Linked DNA regions of Homo sapiens: all the other regions are linked to region 4. Evidence: promoter capture Hi-C in human tissues and cell types (Jung and others, 2019). All regions are on one chromosome and are shown on one strand. The core of a region is centred on a gene start or on the middle of the fragment in contact, and the rest is flanking DNA. Distances in the headings are between cores, read along the strand shown.

Region 1 (2,847 bases), core at 67-2,566, 410 kb after region 4:
AATGCAATTGCTAAACTCAATAAACTGTACTCTTCACATCTGTGCATTTTGCGTACTGTAATTATCCTCTCAGGAACAGCCACTTCATAATTGTTGGCTTTAAATAAAATTGCAGAATTCTTTACCAGGAAGTCATTATGAAGATAGTTCAGTCATAAAGCAAGGTTCTTCTCCTCTAGAGGTGTTTGGGTCAACATTGGTCCAATTCATACAAATTATATCAACAGATGTGGTCTTCCATACCCCTGGAACTTGAGTGCCTCTGGGTAATCTTCAAGGATTTCAGCATGCTGGAGTCTTTCAGATTTGTAAAGTATCTGAGTGCCTAACATTATATTCAAATATTTTCCATTTTTGCCACAACCATATTAAAAACATACTCCTTATTATCTGTGGTCCCTCAAGTTTTCTTGTAATTTACATAATTCTCTACAATAGAATCCACATTTTTCCTGGCACGAAGATAAAGCTGTTTTTGTTTGGTCATTATGTCTCACTCATCAACAAAACATGGTTTTAATTCTTCAGAAATCTTTAACTTCAACTCTCTTCATGAATGTTTTCAACAGCGGCATCTACTGGGGCTCTTCTGAGGAGGCTGAGGTATCTCATTGGTACTGCTCCATTTCCATTTCCACATGATTTCAACATTTTTCCCTTGCAGACCAGATGTCTTCTTTGCTGGGGCAGCCTCTCTCCTCTTCCCCCATGAATTTTGTTCCTGATTTGCTTCTCGAAGTTCTCCCGGTTTCTACAGATTGGTGTTCATGTACCTGAGTACTCTACTTTTTGGAGCCCATTCATTCCAATTTTCATCCAATCCACCGTAATGTGTAAAGTATTTCACTTGTTTGTCCTCGATGGCAACTTTTACATAATTTGCTTCATAAAGAGGCCCATAAAAGCACAGCACCTACTCACTTCAGAGTTTAGGCTTCAGTACCATTTGTAAGTGATAACCCCGACTCCCTTCTCCTACCTCACCCAGCTACTGCTCCCTATGCTGTATCCCATCCAATTCAGCGTCAGGTAGGCTGTCAGGCACTGCCAGCTGTACAGCCTGGGCCCCTCAGTATTGTTTTTACTTTGATTTTTAAGTAGAGTCTACAAACTGTTAACGCCTTTATTTCTGTATTCAAAATGATTTCTGCTATGGATTGTCCCCTCCAAAACTGATGTTGAAACATAATCCCCAATGTGGCAGTATTGAGAGGTGGGTCCTTTAGTGGGTGATTGAATCACAGGGCTCTGCCCTCATGAATAGATTAATCCACCCATGGATTAATGGGTTATCAGGTTAATGGATTAATGGAATAATGGGTTAATGGATTAATGAGTTATCAGGGGAAAGGAACTGGTGGCTTTATAAGAGGAGAGACCTGAGCTAGCAGGCTCAACTCTCCCTCTCATGTGATACCTTGTACTGCCTCGGGACTTTGCAAATTACCCACTAGCAAGAAGGCCCTCACCAAACATGACCCCTTGACCTTGATTTCTCAGCTTACAGAACGGTAAGAAATAAATTCCTTTTCTTGTTGTTGTTGTTTTGAGACAGCCTTGCTCTGTCGCCCAGGCTGGAGTGTAGTGGTGTGATCTTGGCTCACTGCAACCTCCACCTTGAGGGTTCAAGTGATTGTCCTGTCTCAGCCTCCTGAGTAGCTGGGATTACAGGGGTGCACCACCACACCCGGCTAATTTTTTGTATTTTTAGTAGAGATGTGGCAATATTGACCAGGCTGGTCTCGAACTCCTGGCCTCAAGTGATCTGCCCGTCTCGGCCTCCCAAAGTACTGGGATTACAGGCGTGAGCCACCGCGCCTGGCCAAATTCCTTTTCTTTATAAGTTACCCAGTTACAGGTATTCTGGTATGTGCAACACAAAATGGACTAATACAACTCCACTGCCTTTAGTCATTGGCTGCCAGGAGAGTTTTTATGGGTCCACCCTCCCCTACCTCAGTTGGAGGGTACCTAGTGAGGGGGCTGCCTTGGGGCGTGACTTCCGTTCCACATTTATTTCATAGCAGCTAACTTGTTTCAGACCTGTTATACACCATTTTTGTTTGTTTGTTTGTTTTTTTGAGACAGAGTCTCGCTCTGTCACCCAGGCTGTAGTGCAGTGCAAGCTCCGCCTCCCGGGTTCACGCCATTCTCCTGCCTCAGCCTCCCAAGTAGCTGGGACCACAGGTGCCTGTCGCCACGCCCAGCTAGTTTTTTCTCTTTTTTTTTTGTATTTTTAGTAGAGACAGCGTTTCACCGTGTTAGCCAGGATGGTCTCCATCTCCTGACCTCGTGATCTGCCCACCTCAGCCTCCCAAAGTGCTGGGATTATGGGAGTAAGCCACTGCACCCAGCCTATCTTTTTTTTTTCTTTTTTAAGAGATAGGGTCTTATTATGTTCCCCAGGCTGGTCTCAAATTCCTGAACTCAAGTGATTATCCCACCTCAGCCTCTTAACTTTTAATTTTATTATTTAAAAACTTGTATTGAAGTATAGCATACACTATCTGGACATGGTGGCACAGGCCTCTAGTCTCAGCTACTCAGGAGGCTGAGGTGGGAGGATTGCTTGAGCCTGAGAGATGGAGGTTGCAGTGAGTTGGGATCATGCCACTGCACTTCAGCCTGGGCAACAAAGCAAGACCCTGTCTCAGGAAAAAAAAAAAAAAGGTGAAGTATAGCATACATACATATACAGAAAATGGGACAAATAAAAATTGTAAATGCAATGAATTATCACAAAATAAATACACCTGTGTAACCTCCACTCAGGTCAGAAATAGAACATTATCAGCATCCCAGAGGCTCCACTTCCCCAACTCCAGCCCAAGTGCCCCTAATTGCCAT
Region 2 (3,077 bases), core at 91-2,590, 300 kb before region 4:
TTATAAAAACAGTCAAGTCCTTGAGGTCTGCAGCTGCAGAGAATGCATACAAAATGGGCTCTCTGAGAAAAAAATATATATATATAATAATGATGCTCTAACACTCTTGTGAGCAAAGGGCCACAGGAGAGCCTGGGTTTGGAGTCCAGCCTTCACCTCCACTGGGCATATTTTGCCCGTTGGGATGTGTATGCCCCCAAAAAGGCACTGTCTTTATGAGGATGTTCATAGCTGGGGAGGCATCTTCCAGAAGGTAGAAGCATCTTTAGGTATGCAAACTGCTACACCCTGGAGGATGGTATCCCCTCTGCTAGCTGTCACCAGTACCCCAAAATGTAACACAGCTTTCATCAGTATATCACAGAGACCGCGTTACAGGGGTTTGGGGGTTGTGAACCTGGTTGATTGGTGGAGTGCTTCAGGTCCACATCGTAAAAATGCTTCTGTGGGCTGGGTTGAGAAGCATGAGGCATAATAACATTTCTTTGCAAAGTGTATTGATTTCCAAGCGGCTGCCTTAGGATCTGGAATGCCGGCCACTCATAAGAGAAGGAACTGCCCTGAATTATGAGACACATGCTCCCTTCATTATTTCAGAGGGGAGGAATGCAGTTATCTTGAATTTCCTTGGATAGGTGGTGTTCCTTTCCTCCTTCTCTCCCTTCTTCCTCCTTCCCCTTCTACAGGCCATTCTGTCAGCTAATAGACCATTGGTGGCTAACAGGGACTTCTCAGAAGAAAGTTAGGGAGAAGCTTTACCAGAAAGTGGGGAGTTGGTGGGAGTTGGGTAGGGGTATGACTGGCTCTGTGGTACTGAAGAACACTTTTCCAGACTCCAAAATATGTTTGCAGGGAGGCAAGAAGGAACAGGAGCAAGATGGGGCCTCCAGACAACCTGGCATAAGTCCTCGACGCCAGGAGCATAAGAAGGAGAAGCAAGGAGAGAGAAGATCTAGAAGCAAGGGAACTTCCAGAGCCCCTTCTGATCAAGAAATTGATACAGCAGCCCCTGGGGGTCACAGACTGTCACTGAGACAGAAGCCTGTGAAAAGGACAGTGCTTAGTCCAGCAGTGGACTAGGCGAGTGGACAATGAGATGACCTAATCATGAGTTTTGGATGGGCTCAAGTGAGAAAAGAAGGTAGAGTAGAAATGATTTGTTTTGTATTCAAGATGAAAAGGCCACCCTCCCTTCTGCAGGGGAATGAATTCTTATATAGCTCGGATGTGTGTCTCCTACAAATCTCCTGTTGAAACATGACCTCCAGTGTTGGGGATGGGCCTGGTGAGAGGTGTTAGGATAGTAGGGGCGGATCCTTCATGAATGGCTTGGCGCCGTCCTCACAGGATTGAGTGAGTTCTCGCTATGAGTTCATGTGAGATCTAGCTGGGTAAAGGAGACTGCCGCCTCCTCCCTCCCTTGCTCTTGCTCTTGCTCTTGCCATGTCATGGGCCTGCTCCCCCTTCACCGTCTGCCATGAGCAGAAGCTTCCTGAGGCCCCCACCAGAAGCAGATGCTGGTACCAGGCTTTATGTACAGCCTGCAGAACCATGAGCCAAATAAATCTGTTTTCTTTATAAATTACCCAGTCTCAGGTATTCCTTTATAGCAACACAAATGGACCAACACAGATTCCCTTCCCTGAGAGCCAAGTGGTGCCACTGGAGAGCCCCTCCCAGATGCTGGTCCCCAGGGAGGGCTGCCGGGTGAGCCTGTGGGGGCAGGTGGCAGTCAGGCACGGACCTCGCAAGGCTGTGGTCCCAGCCACGTTCTTGAACTTCCTGCAGGGTCCCCTCATGGAGCTTCCCTCTGAGCATGGTGAAGGCCAGAACAGAACAAGAGGCAGCAGAAACCCTTGTCTTTCACTCTGATGAGTGTTGCATGGGGCTGATGCTGGAAACTGCTTCACAATCTCAACAGCATGGGTGCCGGCCAACTCCGAGGGATGTGACAATAGGCCAGCCTGTCCCAGGGCACATCGGCTGAATATCACCTCTCCACGGAGTGTCAGCCAAGTTTCCTTCTTTTAAAGAACATTTTGGCTGGACCCAGTGGCTCACGCCTGTAATCCCAACAATTTGGGAGGCCGAGGCAGGCAGATCCCCTAAGATCAGGAGTTTGAGACCAGCCTGGCCAACATGGCAAAACCCCGCTTCTACTAAAAACACAAAAATTAGCCAGGCATGGTGGCAGCGCCTGTAATCCCAGCTACTCCAGAGGCTGAGGCACGAGAATTGCTTGAACCCGGGAGGCGGAGGTTGCAGTGAGCCGAGATCGTGCCGCTGCACTCCAGCCTGGGTGAAAGAGCGAGAGACTCCGTCTCAAAAATAAGTAAATAAATAAAAATAAAGAACATTTTAAGATTAAATGACGAAACACACAAGCGGAAGATGTATGATGCTTGTGCTATATGGCTTTGCATGAGATCATTATCACCATCTTGTGCAGGGCAGCTTCTTGGGTGTGCAACCTCCCTAGGACTTTACATTTAAAAGGACCCCACACTTGGTTTAATGCTCTGCTGTTGCTGTCTTAATAATCATGCTGGAAAAAAGTGTCCCATGTTTTCATTTTGTACTGGAACCGGCAAACTATGTAGCTGGTCCTAGACTGGTGAGGTAAGAAATACAGGTATCACCAACTTCCCCATTTCCAATGAGGAGACTGAAGGATAAGGTGGTAAAATGGATTCCCTAAAGACACCCCGCTAGTAAGCAGCTAACTGCAGCCCCAGGTCTCCCTAGTGCAGTATCTAGTCTGATGCATGAATGTAATGAGCCGTTTCTGAGCACCTGCCCAGCTCAGGACAGTGACTTCATCCCTGCCCCATGCCTTCTATCGTGAGCCCCTTACACTGCTTATACCACTTGAGACTCCCCAGGCTCGAACTGATGCCCACGCCTGGCCAAGCTGGGCCAGTCAGATGGTCTCTCCAGGGAATCTAAAACTTGCACCTAGAGGGACAGATGACAGAAGGGATAGAAGGGGCATCCAGAGCCATCGTGAGAACAGAGGAATGGCAGGTTCAGGCACAGGAAAATCACATGAAGCCTTCTGCATCTCCCACTCTCCCTTC
Region 3 (3,137 bases), core at 365-2,864, 260 kb after region 4:
GGAGCAGGTTGTTCAGTTTCCATGTAGTTTTGAGTGAGTTTCTTAATCCTGAGTTCTATTGATTGCACTGTGGTCTGAGAGACAGTTTGTTATAATTTCTGTTCTTTTACATTTGCTGAGGAGAGCTTTACTTCCAACTATGTGGTCAATTTTGGAATAAGTGCGATATGGTGCTGAGAAGAATGTATATTCTGTTGATTTGGGGTGGAGAGTTCTGTAGATGTCTATTAGGTCCACTTGGTGCAGAGCTGAGTTCAATTCCTGGATATCCTTCCTTATTAACTTTCTGACTCATTGATCTGTCTAATGTTGACAGTGGGGTGCTAAAGTCTCCCATTATTATTGTGTGGGAGTCTAAGTCTCTCTATAGGTCTCTAAGGACTTGCTTCATGAATCTGGGGGCTCCTGTATTGGGTGCATATATATTTAGGATAGTTAGCTCTTCTTGTTGAATTGATCCCTTTACCATTATGTAATGGCCTTCTTTGTCTCTTTTGATCTTTGCTGGTTTAAAGTCTGTTCTATCAGAGACTAGGATTACAACCCCTACCTTTTTTTGTTTTCCATTTGCTTAGTAGATCTTCCTCCATCCCTTTATTTTGAGCCTATGTGTGTCTCTGCACATGAGATGGGTCTCCTGAATACAGCACACTGATGGGTCTTGACTCTTTACCCAATTTGCCAATCTGTGTCTTTTAATTGGAGCATTTAGCCCATTTACATTTAAGGTTAATATTGTTATGTGTGAATTTGATCCTGTCATTACTATGTTAGTTGGTTATTTTGCTTGTTAGTTGATGCAGTTTCTTCCTAGCATCAATGGTCTCTACAATTTGGCATGTTTTTGCAGTGGCTGGTACCAGTTGTTCCTTTCCATGTTTAGTGCTTCCTTCAGGAGCTCTTGCAGCGCAGGCCTGGTGGTGACAAAATCTCTCAGCATTTGCTTGTCTGTAAAGGATTTTATTTCTCCTTCACTTATGAAGCTTAGTTTGGCTGGATATGAAATTCTGGGTTGAAAACTCTTTTCTTTAATAATGTTGAATATCGGCCCCCACTCTCTTCTGGCTTGTAGAGTTTCTGCTGAGAGATCTGCTGTTAGTCTGATGGGCTTCCCTCTGTGGGTAACCCGACCTTTTTCTCTGGCTGCCCTTAACAGTTTTTCCTTCATTTCAACTTTGGTGAATCTGACGATTATGTGTCTTAGAGTTGCTCTTCTCAAGGAGTATCTTTGTGGTGTTCTCTGTATTTCCCAAATTTGAATGTTGGCCTGCCTTGCCAGATTGGGGGAGTTCTCCTGGATTATATCCTGAAGAGTGTTTTCCAACTTGGTTCCATTCTCCCCGTCACTTTCAGGTACACCAATGAGACGCAGATTTGGTCTTTTCACATAGTCCCACATTTCTTGGAGGCTTTGTTCGTTTCTTTTTACTTTTTTCTCTAAACTTCTCTTCTCGCTTCATTTATTTGATCTTCAATCACTGATACCCTTTCTTCCAGTTGATCAAATCGGCTACTGAAGCTTGTGCATTCGTCACGTAGTTCTCCTGCCATGGTTTTCAGCTCCATCAGGTCGTTTAAGGACTTCTCTACACTGGTTATTCTAGGTAGCCATTTGTCTAATCTTTTTTCAAGGTTTTTAGCTTCTTTGCCATGGGTTCAAACTTCCTGCTTTAGCTCAGAGAAGTTTGATCGTCTGAAGCCTTCTTCTCTCAACTCGTCAAAGTCATTCTCCGTCCAGCTTTGTTCCGTTGCTGGCGAGGAGCTGCATTCCTTTGGAGGGGGAGAAGTGCTCTGATTTTTAGAATTCTTGGTTTTTCTGCTCTGTTTTTTCCCCATCTTTGTGGTTTTATCTACCTTTGGTCTTTGATGATGGTGACGTACAGATGGGCTTTTGGTGTGGATGTCCTTTCTGTTTGTTAGTTTTCCTTCTAAGGGTCAGGACCCTCAGGCTGCAGGTCTGTTGGAGTTTGCTGGAGGTCCATTCCAGACCCTGTGTGCCCGGGTATCAGCAGCAGAGGCTGCAGAACAGAGAATATTGCTGAACAGCAAATGTTGCTGCCTGATCATTCCTCTGGAAGCTTCATCTCAGAGGGGTACCTGGCCGTGTGAGGTGTCAGTCTGCCCCTACTAGGGGTGCCTCCCAGTTAGGCTACTTGGGGGTCAGGGACCCACTTGAGGAGGCAGTCTGACTGTTCTCAGATCTCAAACTCTGTGCTGGGAAAACCACTACTCTCTTCAAAGCTGTCAGACAGGGACATTTAAGTCTGCAGAGGTTTCTGCTGCCTTTTGTTTGGCTATGCCCTGCCCCCAGAGGTGGAGTCTACAGAGGCAGGCAGGCCTCCTTGAGCTGCAATGGGCTCCACCCAGTTCGAGCTTCAGGCCACTTTGTTTACCTACTCAAGCCTCAGCAATGGCGGGTGCCCCTTCCCCAGCCTCACTGCCACCTTGCAGTTCGATCTCAGACTGCTGTGTTAGCAATGAGCGAGGGTCTGTGGGCATGAGGCCCTCCAAGCCAGGTACAGGATATAATCTCCTGGTGTGCCATTTGCTAAGACCGTTGGAAAAGCACAGTATTAGGGTGGGAGTGACCCGATTTTCTAGGTGCCTTCTGTCACAGCTTCTCTTGGCTAGGAAAGGGAATTCCCTGACCCCTTGCGCTTCCAGGTGAGGCGATGCCTCGCCCTGCTTCGGCTCACGCTCGGTGGCCTGCACCCACTGTCTTGCACACACTGTCCGACAAGCCCCAGTGAGATGAACCCGGTACCTCAGTTGGAAATGCAGAAATCACCCGTCTTCTGCGTCACTCACGCTGAGAGCTGTAGACTGGAGCTGTTCTTATTTGGCCATCTTGGAACTGCCTACAGTCTTTTCTTTGAGACAAGGTCTCCATCTGTCACTCAGGCTGGAGTGCAGTGGTACAAACACAGCTTACTGCAGCCTTGACCTCCAGGGCTCGAGTGATCTCACCTCAGCCTCCCGAGTAGCTGGGATTATGGGCACACCACCAAGCCCAGCTAATTTTTTAATATTTTATAGTGACAGGATACCAGTATGTTACCCCAGCTAGTCTAAAATTCTAGGCTCAAGCAATCCGCCCACCTCAGCCTGCTAAAGTGCTGGGATTACAGTTGTGAGCT
Region 4 (3,036 bases), core at 435-2,934:
TGCTTTCAGTTAGTTATGTTCCCCATCACTTTGGACAAGTCATCCCAACTCCCTGGCTTGTTTTTGTAACTCGATTACAGTCCAGAAGCCCAAGTTCTAAAGTGCTGATTCTGATGAGTGTCCATGTACCAGGCACTCTGATCCCATCATAGCATCTACTACAGCCTGGGAGGTCTACTCAAGTGTGCATTCATGTTAAGCACTAACACCAATTAAATCACTTAAATAACGTAGGTAATTATCCAATAGCACATCCAGACGTGGTGGCTCACACGTGTAATCCCAGCACTTTGAGAGGCCGAGGCAGGCAGATCACCTGAGGTCAGGAGTTCGAGACCAGCCCGGCCAAGGTGGTGAAACCCTGTCTCTACTAAAAAATACAAAATTAGCTGGGTGTGGTGGCGCATGCCTGTAATCCCAGCTACTTGGGAAGCTAAGGCAGGAGAATCGCTTGAACCCAGGAGGGGGAGGTTGCAGTGAGCTGAGATTGCACCATTGCACTCCAGCTCGGGTGACAGAGTGAGACTCTGTCTCAAAAAAAAAAAGAAAAAAAAAGAAAAAAATAATAATCCAACAGCACATCTAAACAAGGCTTAAAGTTGTAAAATAAAATTACACTGTGTGGAGGGTGTGTGTGTGTGTGTGTGTGTGTGTGTGTGGGTGAGAGAGAGAGAGAGAGAGAGATGAGGTCTCTGTCATCCAGGCTGGAGTGCAACAGTGCCATCATAGCTCACTGCGGCCTCCAATTCCTGGCCTCAAGCGATCCTCCCGCCTTGGCCTCCCAAATAGCTAAGAATAGAGGCATGTGTCACCACACCTTTTTTTTTTTGTCGTTGTTTGTTTGTTTTTATGAAACGGAGTCTCGCTGTGTAGCCCAGGCTGGAGTGTAGTGATGCAATCTTGGCTCACTGCAACCTTCACCTCCCAGATTCAAGCGATTCTCCTGCCTCAGCCTCCCTAGTAGCTGGGGTTACAGACACGCACCACCACGCTGGATAAATTTTTGTAATTTTAGTACACGGGGTTTCACCATGTTGGCCAGGCTGGTCTTGGACTCCTGACCTCAGGTGATCCGCCTACCTCGGCCTCCCACAGTGCTGGGATTACAGGCGTGAGCCACCATGCCCGGCTAATTCCTGTATTTTCATACTTAGTTGTATTTCCTATTAGGGCCTTGGATCCCGAGTATAATTTTGTACTCAAATATAATTTATAAATAAGGCCTTAGCCTCCCAACAAGGTCAAAGTAGCTAAAAAGTAAGTCCTCCCAACCACTGACATTACCAGCCCCCAGCCCCCAGTCCCAGCCCAGCGGGCTAACAAGGGTCCGGCCTCAGAGAGGGTCTCGGGGATCCCAGAGGTGGGAAAGTCTCCGGAGGCGCAGGCCCCGCTCTCCACCTTCACCAGGGTCGGCGGCAGCACCACGCCGGGTCGCGGGCTGGCTGTGCGCGCCGCGGCCCCACGCCCACTTCCGCTTCCCGTGCTGGGGGCGGTGGCAGGGCCGGTGGGCGGTGGCGGCTCCCGGTCTCGGCTCGGGCACGGCCCTGGGCAGGCCGCCCGCCAGCCGCAGGGGCGCTCCTGAGCTTCGCGGGGCCGCAGTCCGGGATGCCTGCGCGAAGGGAGGGGCGAAGGGCCGGCCGTTGCCGACGTGGGTGTTAAGTGGCCGCCCCAGCCGGCGACCCGGAGCCGAGAGCGGGCGGCGGAGCCTGAGCTGGACGCGGCCACGCCGGCGCGGCGGTGAGCGCAGCCCGGTCTGGCGCCTGCAGCTGCGGGGAGCGCGCCAGGCAGAGGGAGCGGGGAGCGGGGCGCGGGGCGGGCCTCGGTGTGCGGGCGGCGTGACCTTCCCGAGCGGCGGGGGAAGCGGCCAGCGTCGCAGCGCACGTGCCGCGGGACTCGGAGAATCTCGGGGTTGTCGGCCTCCTTCCTGCAGTGCCCACCTGGTGGGAACTTTTGTCCTTGTTTGCCCCCAAGTCCTGTCATTTGGCTGCGGGGCTCCGCGCCTCAGGGGCGCCAGTGCTGGGCAGCATGGAGCCGCTTGTGAATGGAGACTTGCTGGCTGCCCAGGAGTGGGCGGCTGGGCAGGGGCGGTGAACGTTTAGGGTCCGGCCAAGAAAGTTGGAAGTCGTCTCCCTGACCTGTTCCTTGCGAGGCCCGGGAGGAGACGCGCCTGGCCGGTCCTTGGCGGCGAAACTGATTTGCATCTCCACGCTTTACCTAAAGCCCGGGCTCTGGGGACTGGATGGCGAGCTGGCCTGCGGCTCCTTTAGCCAGAAGCTGGGATCTTCCCGCAGCAGTTCGTGTTCCCTGGTGGAAAATGCAGCCTCATCTACTGACTCTCCCTTCCAAAAAAAAGTTATTTTCCCCAAGGGTCGAGAAAAGTGGGTGGTCGGCACTGTTGTTCCTCAGTTGCACCCTGGTGTAATTTGAGAGAGGGGTCAAAGGCGCTGAAAAGATTCTTTTTTCTATTCCAAGTGCTACAGCAAGCTCATAAATCAATTTTAATTCATGCTGAACAGTCTTGCCTCCTCCAAGCCCTGTGTCTTCTCCAAGCCAGAGCTACACATAATGTGAATTAGCTGCCCACTCCTTCTGAGTGAATCTGTTAGTACCCATCATCGTTTTCTATCCTAATAATTCTAATGGCTATTTGTAGAATTTATTTGTTTGTTTATTTTTTTGAGACGGAGTTTCGCTCTTGTTGCCCAGGCTGGAGTGCAATGGGGCGATCTCGGCTCACCGCAACCTCCGCCTCCTGGGTTCAAGCTATTCTCCTCCCTCAGCCTCCCGAGTAGCTGGGATTACAAGCATGGCCCACCACGCCAGGCTAATTTTGTATTTTTAATAGAGACGGGGGTTTCTCATGTTGGTCAGGCTGGTCTCGAACTCCCGACCTCAGGTGATCCGCCCGCCTTGGCCTCCCAAAGTGCTGGGATTACAGGCGTGAGCCACTGTGCCTGGCCTATTTGTAGAATTTAATGTGTTTAAGTTTGGCTCACCTAACAGGGTTTAATTCTTAGGGACAGATAGAATGTAATG
Region 5 (2,772 bases), core at 173-2,672, 300 kb after region 4:
ATCCCAGCATTTGGGAAGGCTGAGGTGGGAGGATCACTTTAGCTTAGGAGTTCACGACCAGCCTGGGCAACAGAGCAAGACCCTGTCTCTACCAAAAAAAAATACATATATATATAGTTTTAATACATAAATATATATAATATATATTTATATATTATATATAATTTATATTATATATATATATTGATAATATTAAAATTAAAAATTTAAAATTAATGTTAATATTAAATTGATAGATATATTGATATTAAATCTATATTAAATATATTTTTATATTTTTACACATACATATATATTTATATGCATGTATGTGTATGCATATATATAGTTAATTTGATGTATATTTTACCACCAAAAAAAAAAGCATTCAATTTCACGTTGTATCATAAACATCACTTCTGCCTTACAAAATCGTAAAAGAGTTTGTAGAAACTTATTTCTGCCAACCTCCTGTATTTATTCAATATTTTTTGTTTTTGAGACAGGATCTTACTCTCACCCAGGCCAGAGTATAGAGGCGTGATCAGAGCTCCCTGCAACCTCGACCTGCTGAGCTCAAGTGATTTTCCTCCCTCCACCTCCTAAGTAACTGGGACTACAGGCAAACAGGCATGCCACCACACCTGGCTGGTTCTTCTTCTTTTTTTTTTTTGTCTGTAGAGACGAGTGTCTCATTATGTTGCCCAGGCTGGTCTCGAACTTCTGAGCTAAAGCGATCCTCCTGCCTCAGCCTCCAAAAATGCTGGGATTATATGCATGAGCCACTGCGCCCAGCCTGGTACTCTTTTTTTTTTAATGGTAAACTCACTAGCCTAGTTTAAGCCATCTTCACTTCAAGCCTAGAATACTACTGCACTCCCAATTTTTGCTATTCTAGCTCATCCTTCACAGAACCAACAGAATAATCTTCCATGGTAAACCTCCGCAAATTTCCCTTCTCCACTAATCTCAATATATCAAATCTATTAGCATTTAAGACTTGCATCTCATTTTTCAAAACAGGCTACTTATCTGTCTTTTAATTGGTTATTTCTACATTGAAAACATTACATTCTTTTTTGTTTGTTTGTTTGTTTGTTTGTTTTTTGAGAGAAAGTCTCACTCTTCCCCAGGCTGGAGTGCAGTGGCATGATCTCAGCTCACTGCAACCTCAGCCTCCCGGGTTCAAGCAATTCTCCTGCCCCAGCCTCCCAAGCAGCTGGGACTACAGGCACGCACCATCATGCTTGGCTAATTTTTGTATTTTTAGTGGAGACAGGGTTTCACCATGTTGGCTAGGCTGTTCTCAAACTCCTGACCTCTGAAAACATTACATTCTAATTATAGCAAACTTTAGAAAATATCTTTTTAAAAGAAGGATGATGAAAATTTTTTTTAAAAGAAGGGTGACATAAATGGGAATCATATATCCCCATTAACTGGTAAAATTCATCAGGGGAGCATATGGTCTGGTGCTTTTTTTTTTTTTTTGGAAGATTACTAATTATTGATTCAATTTCATTAATAGATATAGACCTATTCAGAGGATCTATTTCGCATATAAGTTTTGGTAATTGGTGCCTCAAAGAATTGGTCCATTTCATCTAAGTTATCAAGTTTGTGTGCATAGAGTTGTTTATAATACTCCTTTATTGTCCTTTTAATGTCCATGGGTAGTACTGACGACCTCTCTTTTATTGCTAACAAAATATTAGTAATTTGTTTCTTTTTTATGGTTAGCTTGCATGAGGTTTATCAGTTTGATTGAATTTTACAAAGAACAAGCTTTGGTTTTGTAGACATGCTCTTGATTTCCTATTTTTAATTTCATTGATTTCTGCTCTAATTTTTTCTATTCTTCTGCTTGTTTTAGGTTTCTATTGTTTCTCTAGTTCCTAAGTTAGAAGTTTAAATGATTGATTTTACGTCTTTCCTTTTTTTCTAGCACATTCATTCAATGCTTTAAATTTCCCTTTAAGGACTGCTTTCACTGCATCCCACGAGTCTTAAGTTGTATTTTCATTTTTGTTTGATCCAGAACATTTTAAAATTTCTTGAGACTTCTTTTTTTACCTACGCGTTATTTAGAAGTTCCCAAATATTTGGGAATTTTCAGCTTTCTGTTAGGATTTCTAATGTAATTCCATTGTGATCTGAAAGCATGCTTTATATGATTTCTATTCTTTGAAATTTGTTAAGGTGTGTTTCATAGCCCAGAATGTGGCATATTTTGATAAATGTCCAACGTGAATCTGAGAAGAATGTGTATTCTGCTGTTGTTAGATGAAGTACTTTAAAGTATCAATTAGATCCAGTTAACTGATGGTGCTATTCAGTTTAACTATGTTCTTATGACTTTCTGCCTGTTGGATCTGTCAATTACTGATTAGAGAGTATTGAAGTGTATTTTATATGAGTCCATTTGCTCTCCTCTCTTAGCATATCAATTGTGCCTCATTTTAAAATTTCTTTTTTTTTTTTTTTTGAGACGGAGTCTTGCTCGTTGCCCAGGCTGGAGTGCAGTGGCGCAGTCTTGGCTCACTGCAAGCTCCACCTCCCAGGTTCACGCCATTCTCCTGCCTCAGCCTCCCGAGTAGCTGGGACTACAGGCGCCTGCCACCACGCCCGGCTAACTTTTTGTATTTTTAGTAGAGATGGGTTTTCACCGTGTTAGCCAGGATGGTCTCGATCTCCTGACCTCGTGATCCGCCCGCCTCGGCCTCCCAAAGTGCTGGGATTACAGGCGTGAGCCACGGTGCCCGGCCTTTTTTTTTTCTTTGAGAGAAGTGTCAC
Region 6 (3,035 bases), core at 220-2,719, 380 kb before region 4:
TGTATTTTTAATAGAGACAGGGTTTCACCACCTTGGACAGGCTGGTCTCAAACTCTTGACCTCAGGTGATCCACCTGCCTCGGCCTCCCAAAGTGCTGGGATTACAAGCGTGAGCCACTACGCCCGGCCAAGTTTTTGTTTTTAATGACCAAAAACTTTAGCATGAGAAATATTAATAATAAAAATAAATGCTTGGCTTTCATTCAATTTAGTCATAAATATAAGGCATTTTTATATTCATTATTCTTTGCTGCAATCCTAATTTTTTTCTTCAATTGCAGCCTGGCCTTTTTTTTTGTATGTTACCTTAAATTTAGGAAATTTTCAAATGTATACAATAGTAGCTACTTTTATTTCAATTTTACCCCCCAGCACTAATTATTTTGAAGCAAACCTTAGAAATCATTTTATATTTTTAAATATGGAAATCCAAATTACCACTAACATACTTAAAAAATAACATTAACTACTCAATACAATTAAACATGAGTTGGTATTCACATGTCCATATCTTTCTTTCTTAACTTTTTATTATGCAGAATTTTGAACCTACACCAGAGTAGATAAAATAGCACAATAATCTCTTATATGTACATCATTTGACCCCAACAATCATCAACCCTTAGTCTTTCTGGCCTCATCCCCATCCCTCTACACTTCTGAAGCAAATCCCAGACTTTATGTCCTTTCTGTAAATATTTTAAATGTATCCGTGAAAGATAAAGACTCTGACATAACTACAGTACCAGTATCACAGGCAACGCAGTAATAATTCCTTATACAATGTTTAAATTTTCTTAACTCATAAATGTCAAAAATATTTTCACAGTTTAAAAAAATGAGGATACTTTTTAAAAATGGAATTTAAAGATCTGTACATTGCAATTGATTGACGTCCTTTAGGTTTTCTTTGATATTAATTGTTCCTTTACCACTTCTTACTTTTTTCCTTGCTATACATTTTGAAGAAACTGTGTTGTTTGCCCTATAAAGGTCCCCACAGTCTGGATTCTGGCGATTGTAGCCCCGTGGTATAGTTTAGCGTGTTTCTCTGTCATCCGTATTTCCTGTACATTGGTAGTTAGAGCTAGAGGCTTAATCATATTCAGGTATTTTTGTCAAGCCTATGTCATACAGGATTTCTATTTTTCCACTGGGGGATGCACAACATTTCGTTACCACTAGCTTTGTGATATTACTATTCATTCATGTTCAATGACTGGATCCATCACTTCATTAGGGATTACAAAATGGTAATATTCCTCACTTCAATTATTAGTTGGAATCCTTCTATAATGAGAAACTTTCTTCATCTTCTACTTAGCTATCTGATGGTACAGTTCATATTAGAAAGGCAGAGTAGATGCTTGATTCTTTCTCCTCAATTAGTTTCAAGTAATAAGCTGGTTCCTTGGCATCCTCCTGTGGCGATCAATTCATTTTTCTTTTAAGAGTAATATTATGAACTCATAAATTTAAACATATTTGAACCATTTATATTCACTGAAGTAATTCTTTTTCATGCTCAGATTTCCCCATCTTTAGCCAAGTTAGCTCTGAGTTTTTCTAATATGACCCTAGTAGTCTTTGATGCCTTCCTTGCTATCTAATAGGACAAGATTTTCTATATGCACACTGTAAATCATGCCTGAAATTGGCCACATTTCCTAGGAGCACTGGTTCCTTTTAGTGGGAAGTGATACTAGAGCCAACAGTCTATTATTAGGGCTGTTCATTGGTACTTCATTGTCCTAAAATTATCTTTATAATCTTTTATGTAGTTTACTGTTTGAATTGGGATACAACTAAGTTCCATACATTACTATTGGTTATTGTATCACTAAGATTGTTTTAAACTACAGGTTCCCTCATGCATTTTTGCCATGTGGCGGTGGTGTTGAAGAAGAAGAAAAAGAAGGAGGAGGAGAAAGAGGAAGAACTTTCCAGTTTCCCGTATCTGGATTTTGCTAACCTCGTCCCATGGTCTTTTACCACGTTCCTCTGTTTCTTGTTTTCCTGTATATTCATTGTTGGATCTAGAGGCTTGATTAATCCAAGGCTTTACTGATTTTATTTTCTCTCCTAGCTTTCAATTTGTTCCAATTTTATATAAGTGAAATATATTTGATTTACTTACCCAAATGCATCAAAAAATCTCAGAGAGAGAAATGCTACTCAAAAGCACCCCAAATATTATTCATCTCTATACATTGCAGTATAAATGACCTACCTTTAATTCCCACAAAAATAAAAATAAGGCCAGGAGATAAACAAGACTGAAAAAGACACAGCATCATATGCAAAAGATTCCTCTTGTCTTCCAATGTGCCACTTTTCTTTGCTTCTCTCTAAATTACTACAAGAACAGGACTCCTACCTTACAGCAGGTCCTATGTGGCCTATCCCACTCCGTCACCCTCAGTATCTTCTAATTCAGATCAATATAAACATTCATTTTTAAGAGAAAGAATTTGAGCATCCAGGCCTGTGCCTTCTATGGTTATTCTTTGCCAGACTATAAGTAAACTTGGTTATCCAAAGCTCAAGAAAAATAACCAAACTTTTCTCTTTGCAAAAACATTTTGTTATCAGTCTTCCAGAAGCTTCTAGATATTAATCTGAGGCTGGAGGGCTGGGGAAGGGGGAGAGGAGATAAAGAAACTCTCAGTTAACCAATCCATTGGTCATGAGTATGAACCAAGATCATGGTCCTGTATCAACAGCCTTAGTGTAATTGGATTCATAGAGAATATAATGAGGAAAATGTGCTATATACAAATGATTTTGCAGAATAAATAGCACTATGAGCAGAGATTAAATTTGAAGGGGGCTGAAATCATGCAGCAGCTTAATCTCAGCTCAGAATTTCCTCAGATACAGAAGTCTACCACTTGAACAGTGCACATTTCAACAATGAGCTGATTGAGTGCCACACGAAAGGAAAGAACTGAGTGAAGTGGGCTCAGAGCACGTTCATGGAGCCTGGCACAGTTTGGTCCCATTGGCATTGCTCACTGCACTCAATCAGTGGTGCA

Evidence for each region. Contacts are between HindIII fragments. The study calls those that stand out against the background at their distance.
Region 1: a contact is called between a fragment that was not itself captured here and the fragment with the promoter of SLC25A15 in region 4, in 1 of the 25 tissues and cell types used here (spleen).
Region 2: a fragment that was not itself captured here is called in contact with the fragment with the promoter of SLC25A15 in region 4 in 3 of the 25 tissues and cell types used here (liver, mesendoderm cells and spleen).
Region 3: a contact is called between a fragment that was not itself captured here and the fragment with the promoter of SLC25A15 in region 4, in 1 of the 25 tissues and cell types used here (thymus).
Region 5: a fragment that was not itself captured here is called in contact with the fragment with the promoter of SLC25A15 in region 4 in 1 of the 25 tissues and cell types used here (spleen).
Region 6: a contact is called between a fragment that was not itself captured here and the fragment with the promoter of SLC25A15 in region 4, in 1 of the 25 tissues and cell types used here (spleen).

What each region holds. Positions count from the first base shown.
Region 1 is chr13:41,199,740-41,202,586 of GRCh38, forward strand. All of the region lies in intron 3 of KBTBD6-DT (KBTBD6 divergent transcript), which reads left to right. It also overlaps the pseudogene MORF4L1P4. Among named protein-coding and RNA genes, the nearest start is that of KBTBD7, 6.6 kb to the left of the region's middle. The HindIII fragment of the contact is 5,217 bases long and covers 1-2,847 here.
Region 2 is chr13:40,490,788-40,493,864 of GRCh38, forward strand. No RefSeq gene overlaps it. Among named protein-coding and RNA genes, the nearest start is that of LINC00598, 11 kb to the left of the region's middle. The HindIII fragment of the contact is 5,719 bases long and covers 1-3,077 here.
Region 3 is chr13:41,045,563-41,048,699 of GRCh38, forward strand. It overlaps a transcript of ELF1 not described here. Among named protein-coding and RNA genes, the nearest start is that of TRE-TTC1-2, 14 kb to the right of the region's middle. The HindIII fragment of the contact is 3,143 bases long and covers 44-3,137 here.
Region 4 is chr13:40,787,927-40,790,962 of GRCh38, forward strand. SLC25A15 (solute carrier family 25 member 15) reads left to right here and starts at 1,685. Exons shown (of 7, transcript NM_014252.4): 1 at 1,685-1,737. RefSeq lists silencers at 1,255-1,834, 2,967-3,036. The HindIII fragment of the contact is 20,114 bases long and covers 1-3,036 here.
Region 5 is chr13:41,087,515-41,090,286 of GRCh38, forward strand. No RefSeq gene overlaps it. Among named protein-coding and RNA genes, the nearest start is that of MIR3168, 12 kb to the right of the region's middle. The HindIII fragment of the contact is 7,858 bases long and covers 1-2,772 here.
Region 6 is chr13:40,412,020-40,415,054 of GRCh38, forward strand. All of the region lies in intron 6 of LINC00598 (long intergenic non-protein coding RNA 598), which reads right to left. Among named protein-coding and RNA genes, the nearest start is that of LINC00598, 67 kb to the right of the region's middle. The HindIII fragment of the contact is 4,674 bases long and covers 1-3,035 here.